Linked DNA regions of Homo sapiens: region 2 is linked to region 1. Evidence: promoter capture Hi-C in human tissues and cell types (Jung and others, 2019). All regions are on one chromosome and are shown on one strand. The core of a region is centred on a gene start or on the middle of the fragment in contact, and the rest is flanking DNA. Distances in the headings are between cores, read along the strand shown. Region 1 holds the start of IGDCC3 (immunoglobulin superfamily DCC subclass member 3). Region 2 overlaps LOC105370866 (a long non-coding RNA gene).

The links. The method cuts DNA at HindIII sites, captures the fragments that hold promoters and counts their contacts. A contact is called where the count stands out against the background at its distance.
Region 2: a contact is called between a fragment that was not itself captured here and the fragment with the promoter of IGDCC3 in region 1, in 1 of the 25 tissues and cell types used here (dorsolateral prefrontal cortex).

What each region holds. Positions count from the first base shown.
Region 1 is chr15:65,376,049-65,383,002 of GRCh38, forward strand. IGDCC3 (immunoglobulin superfamily DCC subclass member 3) reads right to left here and starts at 1,954. Exons shown (of 14, transcript NM_004884.4): 1 at 1,638-1,954. The coding sequence starts at 1,740. IGDCC4 (immunoglobulin superfamily DCC subclass member 4) reads right to left here. Exons shown (of 20, transcript NM_020962.3): 20 at 5,436-6,954. The HindIII fragment of the contact is 8,726 bases long and covers 1-4,506 here.
Region 2 is chr15:65,835,798-65,842,751 of GRCh38, forward strand. The region is part of intron 1 of LOC105370866 (a long non-coding RNA gene); the gene reads left to right. Among named protein-coding and RNA genes, the nearest start is that of TRQ-CTG1-4, 30 kb to the right of the region's middle. The HindIII fragment of the contact is 5,146 bases long and covers 1,115-6,260 here.

The DNA.
Region 1 (6,954 bases), core at 704-3,203:
GGGTGTGTGGTCCCAGTACCCGGGGTACAGACTAGGTTGTGGCCCCATTGCCCCTCTCCTCTGGCACTCTGGGTGTTGGTCCTTTTGCCTTTGTCATAGGGAGAGATGAAGAGTAGCAAACACCAACTATGGTTTCCCAAAACCAAGGAAGAGGGTGCTCCTAGAACCTTTACTTCCAGCCAACCTCTCTGCTCCTGCAGAAGAGAAATGAGCAGGAAAAGAAGGAGGCCAAAGAATAGATGGGGTTAAGGCCAATCAGAGAATCAGAAGCCCGGCTGGAGGGACAAGCACTCCAATCCCAGGCATGATGCCAAGTCACCAACTTCTCCAGCAAACAACTTACCAGACCAGTTACAACTCCACTCGAGGAGGAATGAACCCACCTGGTCTGAAATGGCAGTCACAGACCCCTCCTCACATTTCCAGATAACTAGCGATCCTGGAGCTGGCCCCTCCCCAGCAGACTAGGGCCCTCCCTGGCTGAGGGAGATGGGGAAATGGGTGGGGAGAAAGGAGGGGCGTTGGGGTTATAGGCATTCCCCGCCCAGCGCCCCCCGCGCCCCCCTCCCCCCGTCCCCGGCCCAGGAAGATGTAATGTTTTAAGACTTTTTAGGATCGCACTTATTCAAACCCCTGCGCATCCTCCCCATGTCGTGAGTTCACCCGTCTTAGCCCCGAATCCAACCCTGGTATAGCTGTCGGGAATAAAGTTTTTCCTTGATGCGGACGCGAGCTTCTACTTCTTGGGAGAGGAGTGGAGAGAGAATAGCCCAGATGAGTGTCTGTGGGGAACTTGAGGTGGGAGGGTTAAGGGACTAGATTTGCACTCTCCTCCCGGGAGATGGGACCATTGCAGCCACTAAAGGGAACAGAGTGGTGGTGACCGAGCTCCAGGCAGCAGAGCCGAGCTCCAGGCAGCAGAACCGGCGGACCGCGAGAGCCAGGGCAAGGTCTCCGCGTGTGCACACTTCGGGGAAGGGCAGGGGCACGTGAGCATCCCCGCGGCTCGCTCGCTCTCGCTTTCGGTGGCTTCTCCTCTCCTTCTTGGCTCACGGGCTCTGTCCCGGGTCGCTCCCTAGCCACGCGCCGCCCTCCAGGAATCTCCCTCGTCTTCTCCTGTCTCTCCCGCGCACTCCTCAGCCCAGTACCAGCTCCAAATGCAGGTCGTGCCATCTCCGCCCAGTGCAGCCGTCAGAGTCCCGGTCTCCGCTCCCCAGGCTGCTGTCCCCTGTCTTGGCTGCCTCGGGCTATGTCCACGGCCGGGCACCCAGCACCCCAGCTCGTCCGCCTCGGTCAGCGCTTAGCCTTGCGGTCTCCCCTGGCTCGTTTCCCTCGGTCTCCACGCCAGCCCGCCCCGCTTGCTCCCGCTTCGCTGCACTCCTTGCTCCTCAGTCTGGGCTCCGGGTCCTGCCCCAGTCTTCCTCCGGGGGGTTCCGTCCTCAACACGCCCCTAGGGCCCCCAGCAGTCCGGCCTTGGTACCCTCTCCCCGTCCGGATCCGCAGGGTCCCCCCCGCGCGGGGTCCGCCCTCAGGTCCGCGCCGCTCTCCCCGGGTCCGCCCCTCGCGCCCGCTCCCTCCCTGCTCGCCCTTCCCCTGGCTCCGTCCGCAACCGCCCGGTCCGGGGCGCTTTCACTCACCCTCGCTCGGCGCGGGCAGCAGCAGCAACAGCAGCGGCAGCAGGAGCCGGGGCCAGAGCGGGGCGGGCGGGCGGCGCGGAGACGCGGCGCGCTGCACAGCCATGGGGCTCTCGGTCAGCTCGGCTCGGCGACGCGCGGCTCCCGGGCCTCTCGCGGCTCACAGCGTCCCGCGGGGCCGGCGCCGGGGCCGGGGCTGGGGCTCCGGCCGGGGCCGAGCCCAGGCGGTGGGGGACTGGGGCCGCATGCCTGCTCAGCAGCGCGGGGGGCGCAGGGGGAGCGCCGCTTGCGCCATCTTGCACCCACCCGGGCGATCTGTCAGCCTCGCCCGGGGTGCGCGCTCCACACTCGCACCGCTCGCGGCCGCCCCGCCCTCCTCCCCAGCCCGCCGCCCCCCTCCTCTCTGCTCCCGGTCCCCTCCCCCAGCCCCCTCTCCCCGGAGGCCCGGTCTGGGGAACAAAAGAGCCGGCGAGCGCTTTAAGCGGCCGGACATTCCCGGCTGCGCGGCGGACGCGCCCCCTGCGCTTTGAACTGTGGCTGGAGCGGCCGGCGCCGTCCCGGGCTGCAGCCGGGTATCCCCTCCCCGCGGGCCAGCCGGGGACCTGGGGGGCTGAGGAAGTGGACACCAGCGGACTGGGGAGTGGGTCCGGGCTGCGGAAAGACACACAGCTGCGGGATTTGCTCTGACCCACTCTTTCTGCTGCGCCCTCCTCCAAGTCCATATTTTAGAGATAATTCTCTAAAAAGCTGCGTAAAGTTGTCAAAGATTCAGTTTTCCATGGATTTCTGGTCCTTCCACTCAAAGGATAGATCCTGTAGCTGCAAGCTTGGCTTCTCTGGACCGAGGAGTCCTGGCGCTCCGCTGGGGAGGATTGCCTGGAGAGAGCAGACCCAGCAGCAGGACAATGAGAGCTCTAAAGGGGCCTGGCTTCCGACCTGGGTTCTGCCTGCTGCCTAGCCCAGTCACTCTCACTGAGCTCATCTGAAAGATGAAAATAATCTTATCTCTCCTGTTCATCCCTAGAGACCTTTAAACCGCAGAGGTCCTGACAAATGACCTGGTAACTGGAAAAGCACATAGAAAGTTAAAATTCCCAGTAACGTTTCTGTGCCACAAAGAAGGCCCTCAATCGTTCATGTCAGAGAACATATAAGGAGACAACAGAGGTCCCACGTGAGAATGTTACAGAAGATAAGCATGTCTTTTAGCAGAGACATACCCATACTAGCCCTCAGAGATCTTGAATCTCAGCCACTCTCTATTAAATGGTCTTCTGTTGAGTCCAGCATGATGGACTAGTCCATCAAAATTATTGAGCAGCTACTAAGTTCTAGGAGCTAGAGAATTAAAGCTGGCAGGCTAGGCTTAGTGGCTCACACCTGTAATCCCAGCACTTTGGGAGGCCGAGGTGGGCAGATCACTTGAACCCAGGAGTTCAAAACCAGCCTGGGCAACATGGTGAAAACCTGTCTCTACAAAAAATACAAACATTAGCCAAGCATGGCGGTGCATGCCTGGAGTCCCACTGTATTCCAGCCTGGGCAACACAGACCCTGTCTCAATAAATAAATAAATAATAAAAGTTGGCCTAATGTAGCTATTTGCTCCTTTGGCACTGGACTGGGATGGCAGAGGAAAAACTAAGTCTTTCTTTTGATACCAACTCTGGAACTTTGGGACCATGTACGAAACTAACGGTGGCTCACGCCTGTAATCCCAGCACTTTGGGAAGCTGAGGCGGGTGGATTACCTGATGTCAGGAGTTCGAGACCAGCCTGACCAATGTGATGAAACACCATCTCTACTAAAAATACAAAAAAATTAGCCGGGCGTGGTGGCAGGCGCCTGTAATCCCAGCTACTCGGGAGGCTGAGGCAGGAAAATAGCTTGAACCCGGGAGGCAAACGTTGCAGTGAGCTGAGATTGCACCATTGCACTCCAGCCTGGGCGACAGAGCAAGACTCCGTCTCGAAACAAACAAACAAACAAAAAACTAACTTTGATACGGATAAGTAAGGAAGTACAGGCCTCCAGAAATCAGAGTGCCTGTAGATGGACAGGTTTACTAATGATGAGGTTGGCATAGCTCAGGACTGTTCACTCTAGGGCAGCTACTGGAAGATGAGCCTGAGAAGCAGGACATGAGGCATGTGAACAGCGGGAAGCAATGGAAAAATTCTAGGTGGAGGACTCCAATGTGCCAAAGCCCTATTGGATTTCATTGTGAGAAAGGGTGGGAGTGGTGGTCTACTGGCCTTAGGAAAGGGAGGGGAAGGGCCCTCCCTGGGCCTAAAATCCTGGAACTCCCTCCTGCAGGGCTTGAATTCTCAACAACCCCTTCTTGGCTTGTCCTGGACTCTGAAGAGGTCAAATTGGTCTCTTGAATTGCTGTCATTTTAAATTCATTTTGACAAGTGTTTAATTCTTCTTTATCACAACCCTTGGTCTGAGAGTGATATGCAAATAATGGCTATTCTGCCGAGTGCAAAATGTGCAGTATCTCTCTGTCTGATCTGTCAATTAACTCTGGGTCTGGCCCACCACTTTGGGGGTGGTCCTGAGCAAAGCAGCCTCTAGCTCTTGATTCCCTCCAATAGAAAGCATGTTCCGGGCTCTGTAAAGATCTTAGCAGACAGCAGCTGCCAACTGTGATGCCAAGATGTGTGTGGGGTGTGAGTGTGGAGTTTTGTGTGTGAGACTGTGTGCACATTTGCATTAACGGACAGACACAAGGGTGTTTGTGAAGGCAAAGTATGCATGTGCGGGTCTCTGAGCTTGTACACACAGTGCACGTGTGTGTGATTGTGTGGCCATGAGTAATTTTGGTGACCAGAGTTATACAGGAGAATAGTTGTGGAGCCCAAATCTCTGGAGTTGTTCCCTCTTTCCTGCACCCAAAAAAGTTCAGAGAAATGTGTGCCCAGATGGAAAGAGATCCCCAGAGAGTCTAAGGAAGTGCCATCAAAGGACACATCTTTCCTAAGTTTACGTCTTTTTCCTAAGTGCCTGTTGAGGGAGGAAGATGGTTTAGTTCTTTCCCATGACCACCTGCTTTTTACCCTCAAAAACCACCATTTTGAGCCGGGCGCAGGGGCTTATGCCTGTAATTCCAGCACTTTGGGAGGCCAAGGCGGGCAGATTACCTGAGGTCAGGAGTTTGAGACCAGCCTGGCTAACATGGTGAAACCCCGTCTCTACTAAAAATACAAAAATTAGCCGGGTGTGGTGGTGCATGCCTGTAATCCCAGCTATTCGGGGGGCTGAGGCAGGAGAATCACTTGAACCCGGGAGGCAGAGGTTGCAGTGAGCCGAGATCATGCCACTGCACTCCAGCCTAGGCGACAAAGTGAGATTAGTCTGAAAAAACAAACAAACAAACAAACAAACAAACAAAACACTATTTTGGGCCAAGAGGCAGTGGCTCATGCTTGTAATCGAGCACTTTTCGAAGCTGGGGCAGGAGGATGGTTTTAGCCCAGGAGTTCGAGACCAGTCTGGGTAAGATAACGAGACCACATCTCTATAACAAAAATTTTTTTTAATATTAGCCAGGCATGGTGGCATGTGCCTGTAGTCCCAGCTACTAGGGAGGCTACAGTGACAAGACTGCTTGAACCCAGGAAGTTGAGTCTGCAGTGAGCTGTGATTGTGCCACTGCACTCCAGCCTGGGCGACAGAGAGATCCCATCTCAAAAACAACAACAACATCATTTCCCATCACAGTAAGAAATAAAATCCCTAGGGCACAAAGGCTGAGGAAATTCTAGTCATGGTCAATGGTTCCAAAAGAGAATTCCACATTTCTGGAAAATAGTTTATTAATTCATTATAAGGACAGATACATGAATCAATGCCTTAGCTTAACACTAAAGAGTATCATATTTGTAAGGAGAAAAAAAAAACGCTGGAAGGATAATTAAATAGTACAGCATAAACTAAATACAGACAAATAAATGAGCAAGTACTGATTACACTTGTCATGCATCAAGAAAAGGAAGATTTTTAATTGAGACTCAGAAAACTTAAGGCATCAATGGTAGGTGACAAAGGGATTAATACCCTGTAAAAGGCCAATAGATTCTTTTCTAATAAAAATACTGCTACAAAGACACAAACCTAACACTTCCAAATTACCCAGAGCCCAAATCATATATAGTGCTAGTGAGAAATGGCCACTTTCTTATCAACTGTGAGTTATAGGCAGATACCAGATTTATTACTTATTTGCTTTTGAGAAACAATTTTCCACCCAACCTAATGGGTTATAAATTGTCTCATTTGCAGCTATTTAATTTAAACCAGAACCTCAGTGCCTGTTAAACAAGAACATGAAAAATGACTATGTGGTATAATGCTAAGAGCCTACTGTTAAAACAGCCATTTAATTCAGGGCAGTTTTTTTTTCTTCTTTAAAAAAAAAAAATCAAACCAGCAAAATAAAATGAGGCTTTTGACCTTCAGAGCAATGATGAAACATACACAGTGGTGTTAGCCACAGCAGCGCTGAATGCTACAGAAATACTACAAGTGACAATTCTGTCTTTAACGAGATACAAAACCAACATTAATAATCTTTAGTGTTATCATAGGCTGGCTGAAGGAGGGGGAGGAGGTGGAAACGTAGGTGCAGACATCAACAGTGAGTGACACCCGAGTATAATAAACACAGATGCTTTCAGGGTTTGAGGAAGCCGCAACTGTGCTGAGAGACATTCCACCATTTAAAAAAAAAAAAAAAAAAAAGGAAAAATGGACTGGTTATTTCGAATTTGGCCCAGAAGGCAGAGTTAACTCTTGATGTGCCAATCAGACATCATTAGGGAGTAAAGACCCTAACATTCTATGCTCCTATGAGAGGGCTGAGGTGAAAAACCAAATAAATGACATTGTTTTCACTACACAGAAAATAGAAGTCAAGCTTGTCCCTGTGCGGCAGGTGAACAGAAAATGACTTGAGGATTCAATTTAAAGAAAAAACAAACTGAAATGAGCTACCCCTTTTCCTGTGCAAAGACCTCCTTGCCAGCACCCCAGAGGGTGAGATTCCTGTCATCCCCAATCCAGATCAAGTCAAGCCTCACAGGGTGGGAAGGGCCTCCCTGAACTCTCACTCCCCTTCTCTTCCTTTAGCTTCTTCTGGAAGAGAGGCCCAAATCATCTCCATCCAGTAAACTTGCCCCCCTGCATAGAAGGGAGGGCATCTTTTTATTCTGAGCCTCTGGATCACAGCCCCCTTCCCTGTCTCAAACATTCCCCTCTATGACTTGGATCCATCCATGGAGAACCCTTGGATCCCAATCCCAAAGGCAAGATGCAGGG
Region 2 (6,954 bases), core at 2,438-4,937, 460 kb after region 1:
TGATTGACACAAAAGTAGACTACAGCCTGTATACAGCTCCATTTAGGTTATAGTTCATGATGTACAGAGAAACCTTTAGGCTGAACTTAAGATATGTAAGGAGGCAGCTTTATGCTAAACGTGATTTAACACTGGTAAGGCAAAGGCTATCAGTTGGATTTTCCAGATGAGAACACAGGCCAGGCACAGTGGTTTACGCCTGTAATCCCAGCACTTTGGGAAGCCAAGGTGGGAGAATCACTTCAGGCCAGGAGTTTGAGACCAGCCTGGGGAGCATGGTAAAACCCTGTCTCTACTAAAAATACAAAAATTAGCCAGGCATGGTGGCACACACCTGTAATCTCAGCTACTCGGGAGGCTCAGGCAGGAGAATAACTGGAACTCGGGAGGTGGAGGTTGCAGTGAGCCAAGGTCATGCCGCTGCACTCCAGCCTGGGCGACAGAGTAAGACTCCATCTCAGAAAAAAAAAAAAATTGCATAACAAAACCTTCTCTCTGGAAGACAGCAACTGCAGTCTTTACCACCAGAGAATCTCATGTATGGCTTCCACATGGCTGTGAATAAATGATTTTGTCCTGCAATCTCCTCCTTTGTCTGGCTGAGTTTATAAAGTGCTTGCTACTCAGGCATCAAGAGTATTTCAGCAGACATCTGCACATCCATTTGCTTATACTTTCATCCTATAATTATTTAATTACCTTCTTTTAGTGCCTATAAATAAGAGCTCTGTCATCTGAGAAAAGCCCAGGAAAAATAGAAGGACCATAGAATTTATTTTATTTTATTTAATTTATTTTTTTTTTTTGAGACTGAGTTTTGCTCTTGTCGCCCAGGCTGGAGTGCAATGGCACGATCTCGATTCACTGCAAACTCTGCCACTGGGGTTCCAGCAATTCTCCTGCCTCAGCCTCCAGAGTAGCTGGGACTATAGGCATGCACCACTACATCTGGTTAATTTTGTATTTTGAGTTAACTTCAGGTGATTTCGCCTGCCTCGGCCTCCCAAAGTACTGGGATTACAGGTGTGAGCCACTGCACCTGGCCAGAAGGGCCGTAGAATTGAAATTCAGGTGGGAAAACCACTTTCCCATCTTGGCATGCACAACAATGCCCCCTGTTGACTGAGGCATGCCAGCTTAAAAACAACAACAAAAACAAAGAGTAAGAAAAAAACCAAAATAAAACAAAACAGTCCTCCCCGCAATAACAACCAGCTTTATTGAGGTATAATTGTTATACAATAAATTGTCCTACTTAAAGGGTACAATTTGATGAGTTTTAACATGAGCATATGCTGGTGAAACCACTGCAGTCAAGATAATGAACGTTTCTATCCCAGACAGCTTTTCCATTTCAGGGCAAACAGGGTGAGCACCTAGTTCAATACTATGTGGTAAAAGCTATACCCTCCTTTTAAAAATAATAGCACCGGCCCCTGCAGGGCCTTATTTATTTATTTATTTATTTTGTAGAGATAAGGTCTCCCTATGTTGCCCAGGCTGGTCTCAAAACTCCTAGGCTCAAGTGATCTTCCTGCCTTGGCCTCCCAAAGTGCTGGGATTACTGGTGTGAGCCACCACACCCGGCTAAGGGCCCTCTTTATTTCAGTGTCTGTTCTCATTGGAAAGAGAGCCCTCCATTTGATCTGTATGTGGCCTTTCCTCCTCTCGTCCAGTTACAAGGCTTGTCATTCTGTTGAAGGCTAACTTCTGTGGTGCTTTGGTTCTTATCCTCTTCCAGCTTTCTAGAGATTCCTTTTTAGGGAGCAGTCTCTCTCTCTGCTGAATCATTCACTTATCTACTAGCTCCTTTTCAATAGTAAAAACAAATACAAACAAAGCAAACAAACAAAATTAGTACCTCTTTCTGCCTCCCCCTTCCTCCCTTTAGGCACCCCTTGCTGTACCTCATGCCTTCTTTTCTCGGCCAGACTTCCAGAAATAATTGTCCAAACTCACTCTCTCTCTCTCCACTTCCTCACTTCCCTCACTCTCTTAAAGCCACCCCCACCACCACCACCACACAGATACTATTCTTGACTAGGTCACTCACTACTTCCCTGTTGCTCAGTCCACTGGACCCAACTCAGTCCTTATCATACTCAGACACTGTTGACCATTCTGTCCTTTAAAAAATAGCTTTGTTTTTACAAAAGCAATTGATGCTTTACAAAAAAAAAAAAAGGCAAACAATAAATGAAAGAATTAGGAGGCTCCTCCATGGTTCACTTGGTCTCACTGCTGCAAACAGGGCCAGTACTGCAAGAACTCTCAGCAGCCAGCCAGCCACCCAGTGCAGCTGCCCAATTCACAGAGCAGCCCCAGAAAGTCCCAGAAATTAGTCACTGTAGCCTTCTAATTTGGGGAAATTTTCTTTTTTTTCCTCTTTTTTTTTTTTTTTTTTTGAGACTAAGTCTCACTCTGTTGCCCAAGCTGGAGTGCAGTGGTGCGATCTCAGCTCACTGCAACCTCCACCTCCCGGGTTTAAGCGATTCTCCTGCCTCAGCCTCCCAAGTAGCTGGGACTACAGGCACATGCCACCACGCCCAGCTAATTTTTTTGTATTTTTAGTAGAGACGGGGTTTCACTGTGTTGGCCAGGCTGGTTTTGAACTCCTGACCTTGTGATCAGCCTGCCTCAGTCTCCCAAAGTGTTGGGATTACAGGCGTGAGCCACCGCACCCAGCTGGGAAATTTTCATACTTGCTCTTTCATAGACATTATGGAAGCTTTGCAAATTTTTTTTTTTTTTTTTTTGAGATGGAGTCTCGCTCTGTGGCCTAGGCTGGAGTGCAGTGCCACGATCTCGGCTCACTGCAACCTCCGCCTCCTGGGTTCAAGCAATTCTCCTGTCTCAGCCTCCTGAGTAGCTGGGATTACAGGCACGCACCACCAAGCCTGGGTAATTTTTGTTTTTGTTTTTTGTTTTTGAGACAGAGTTTTGCTCTTGTTGCCCAGGCTGGAGTGCAGTGGTGCAACTTCGGCTCACTGCAACCTCCGCCTCCCAGTTTCAAGCGATTCTCCTGCCTTAGCCTCCCTAGTAGCTGGGATTACAGGCATGCGCCACCAGGCCTAGCTAATTCTGTATTTTTAGTAGAGACAGGGTTACTCCACGTTGGTCAGGGTGGTCTCGAACTCTCAACCTCAGGTGATCCTCCCGCCTCAGCCTCCCAAAGTGCTAGGATTACAGAGGTGAGCCACATGCTTGGCCTTGTATTTTTAGTAGAGATGGGGTTTCACCATGTTGGTCAGGCTGGTCTCGAACTCCTGACCTCATGATCTGCCCACCTCAGGCTCCCAAAGTGCTGGGATTACAGGCATGAGCCACCGCACCCAGCTGGACAAATTTTATATAAATAAGTACATACATACATGATCGGATGCGGTGGCTCACACCTGTAATCCCAGCACTTTGGGAGGCCAACGCAGGTGGATCACCTGAGGTTGGGAGTTCGAGACTAGTCCGACCAATATGGTGAAACCCCATCTCCACTAAAAATACAAAAATTAGCCGGATGTGGTGGTGCGTGCCTGTAATCCCAACTACTTGGGAGGCTGAGACAGGAGAACTGCTTGAACCGGGAGGCAGAGGTTGCAGTGAGCTGAGATTGCGCCACTGCACTCCAGCCTGGACCACAGAGCAAGATTTCATCTCAAAAAAAAAAAAAAGGAAGGAATGCCATCATCCCAAACCAGGTGTTCTGGGAATGGGGTTGGCAGATTAACAAACAAACAAACAAACAAACAAACGTACATACATATATAAACAGAGAAGGGCCTATATTCAGTAACTCTTCAATTCTGGTCCTAAAAGTGGCTTTCAATCCTGCCCTAGAGATGACACAATCCTGGATCTACGTAACTAGCCCATGTTGGTCACTTTGAGCAGGAAGCCAGTCAGGGCATGGCTTTCCTGATAGCTACCAGTCATGTTCCCCTCCTTAAAGCTTATCTTTAAGAGAATGACAGGAACGAAGCACACAGACATATGGGATCTTGGGAGGCTGACCAAGTCATTTTAAAGGCTTATGCATTTTTAGACACATACAGAAAAATGGGTTTCTCATGACCAGTGATTTTACCCAACATAAGAAGGAAATAAAAGTCACCGCCAAAATCCCACCGCCCATAGCATCCATACCAATTTTGGTGAATATCCTTTAGACATCTTTATGCAGTATATATACCTAGAGGTATATGAATATAGTTTCACATATGTGAGATGATAATTTATATATTATTCTGTAATTGCTACATTTACTGAGAATATGCAATGGGTAGATTTCCAAGTCAATAACCGTAGACTAACACCACGATTGTTAATGATCAACAGCTATTTGTAATATTTACAAACCATGATTTATGCAACCTTTCTCCTGTTGTTGGCCATTTCGGTTGTTTGCATTGTTTAATATTGTAAACTACACGTGAAAAACATCCTGTGTTCTGCTTTTGTGCAATTTTCTCCTCAGGGTAATTTCTAGAAGTGGACAAGTTCAATACAATGGTGTGTCCATTTTATGATACAGTTACCTGACTGTCTTCTGGAAATTTTACTCCTACCAACACTGGATTTAAGGACATGTTTGCCCCACTGTCAACAACATTGAGTTTTATCGATTTCTGATTTTAGATATGGGTCTTGTAGTCTGATTCTGTTTTTGGACTAATTTAAATATATTTCTTTCAATAACAGTTTATTTCATTCACATAATTTTAATTATTAGATGTGACTCTCATTCTGTCTTTCTGTTTTGTTTTCTATTGTTATGCTTGCTTGGCATATATTGTTTTCTGTCTTTCAGTAAAGTATATGTTCTTCAGATTTTTTTTTCTTCCGGTAATTTTGAGAGGATTTTATCTGCTTTAAAAAAGTTCTAGGCCAGGCGTGGTGGCTGTCGCCTGTAATCCCAGCACTTCGGGAGGCCAAGCTGGGTAGATCACTTTGAGGTCAGGAGTTCGAGACCAGCCTGGCCAACATGGTGAAACCCCGTCTCTACTAAAAATACAAAAAATTAGCCGGGCATGGTGGCATGTGCCTGTAATCCCAGCTACTTGAGAGGCTGAGGCATAAGAATTGCTTGAACCCTGGGAGGCGGAGGTTGCAGTGAGCCAAGATCATGCCACTGTACTCCAGCCTGGGTGACAGAGTGAGACTGTGTCTCAAAACATAAAAAAAAAGATTTTTTAAAGTTCTGTAAGTGGACATTTGTGCCTTTCATATATACTTAGTTTTGTTTTTCTCAAACAATGCAATATTTGCTCCATTCTAATAATAACAATAGCTAACATTAACTGTATGTTTACTGTGTCCTCGTAACAACCCTATGAGGTGGATGAAAATATGTTTTCCTTCCTTCCTACAACTTGCTCATATCTCTAGGCTTGGGTCATCTAATCTGAGTGCTTCGTGTACTTCTCAACTTCCTTTGGCTGAGCGCAAGAAGATGAGGTGGGAGGATCCTGGAGCCCAGGAGTTTGAGTCCAGCCTGGGCATCAGAGTGAGACCTTGTCTCTAAAAAAAATAAAGAAAAATTCCTTTCTGCAGGGCATGATGGCTCATGCTTGTAATCCCAGCAGTCTGGGAGGCAGCACTCAGGAGGCAGCCATGAGAATCGCTTGAATCTGGGAAGCAGACGTTGCAATGAGCCGAGATTGTGCCACTGCAGTCCAGCCTGGGCGACAGACCGAGACTCCTTCTCAAAAAAAAAATGCAAAAAATTAGCTGGCACGTTGATGTGTGCCTGTGGTTCCAGCTACTTGAGAGGCTGAGGTGGGCGGATCATTGGAGCCCAGGAAGTTGAGGCTACATTGAGCCGAGATTGCGCCACTGTACTCCAGCCTGGGTGACAAAGTAAAACCCTGCCTCAAAAAAAGACAAAAAGAAAAAGAAAGGAAAATCCCTTTGGAAAGAAAAATCATACCCTGCTGGGGTCTGAGCTCAAGTAGCTCTCCCTTGCACTACTGAGCAGCCATGATTATTTCTGTTTAGAATTATTCAATGTCCCTCCCTCACTTCCACCCCCATAATCAGTGACATCCCAAATACACTGTTTTTTAAATCAATCCAGGCTACTGTGCTACAGACTGCACTTTCACATGGATAATTCCATTCAGTCCTCATGGCAATCCTGTTAAAATGTCTCTAATCCCCCACATTAGTGACAAGAAAACTGAGTAAAAGAGCTTGTGTGATTTGTCTTTGTGCTCAATACTTGGTGGGTGTTCTTAGCTACTGTCCTTTGACTGATTGCCACATTTTATTTACTTGTTTGTTTGTTTGTCTGTTTGTTTGTTTGTTTTTGAGACGGAGTCTTGCTCTGTCACCCTGGCTGGAGTGCAGTGTCATGATCTCGGCTGACTGCAACCTCTGCCTCCTTGGTTCAAGCGATTCTCCTGCCTCAGCCTCCCAAGTAGCTGGGACTACAGGTGCATGCCACCACACCCGACTAATTTTTGTATTTTTTAGTAGAGGTGGGGTTTCACCATGTTGACCAGGCTGGTCTTGACTCCTGACCTCAGGTGATCCACCTGGCTTGGCCTCCCAGAGTGCTGAGATTACAGGCGTGAGCCACCGCACTCAGCCTACTTGTTTATTTAGTTATTTATTTGAGACAGGGTCTCACTCTGTTGCCCAGGCTGGAGTGCAATGGTACAGTCACAGTTCATTGCAGCCTCAACCTCCCAGGCACAAGTGATCCTCCCACATCACCCTCTTAAATAGCTGGGACTACAGGGATGCACTACCACACCTGGCTAATTTTTTAATTTTCTGTAGAGCTCAGGTCTCCCTATGTTTCCCAGGCTGGTCTCAAACTCCTGGCCTCAAAGGATCCTCTTGCCTCATCCTCCCAAAGTGCTGGGATTACAGGCATGACCAACTGCATCTGGCCCACATTAAAAAAAGCAGGATAAAGCAATAAAAACCAGGACAATCTAAAACATCAAATAACAT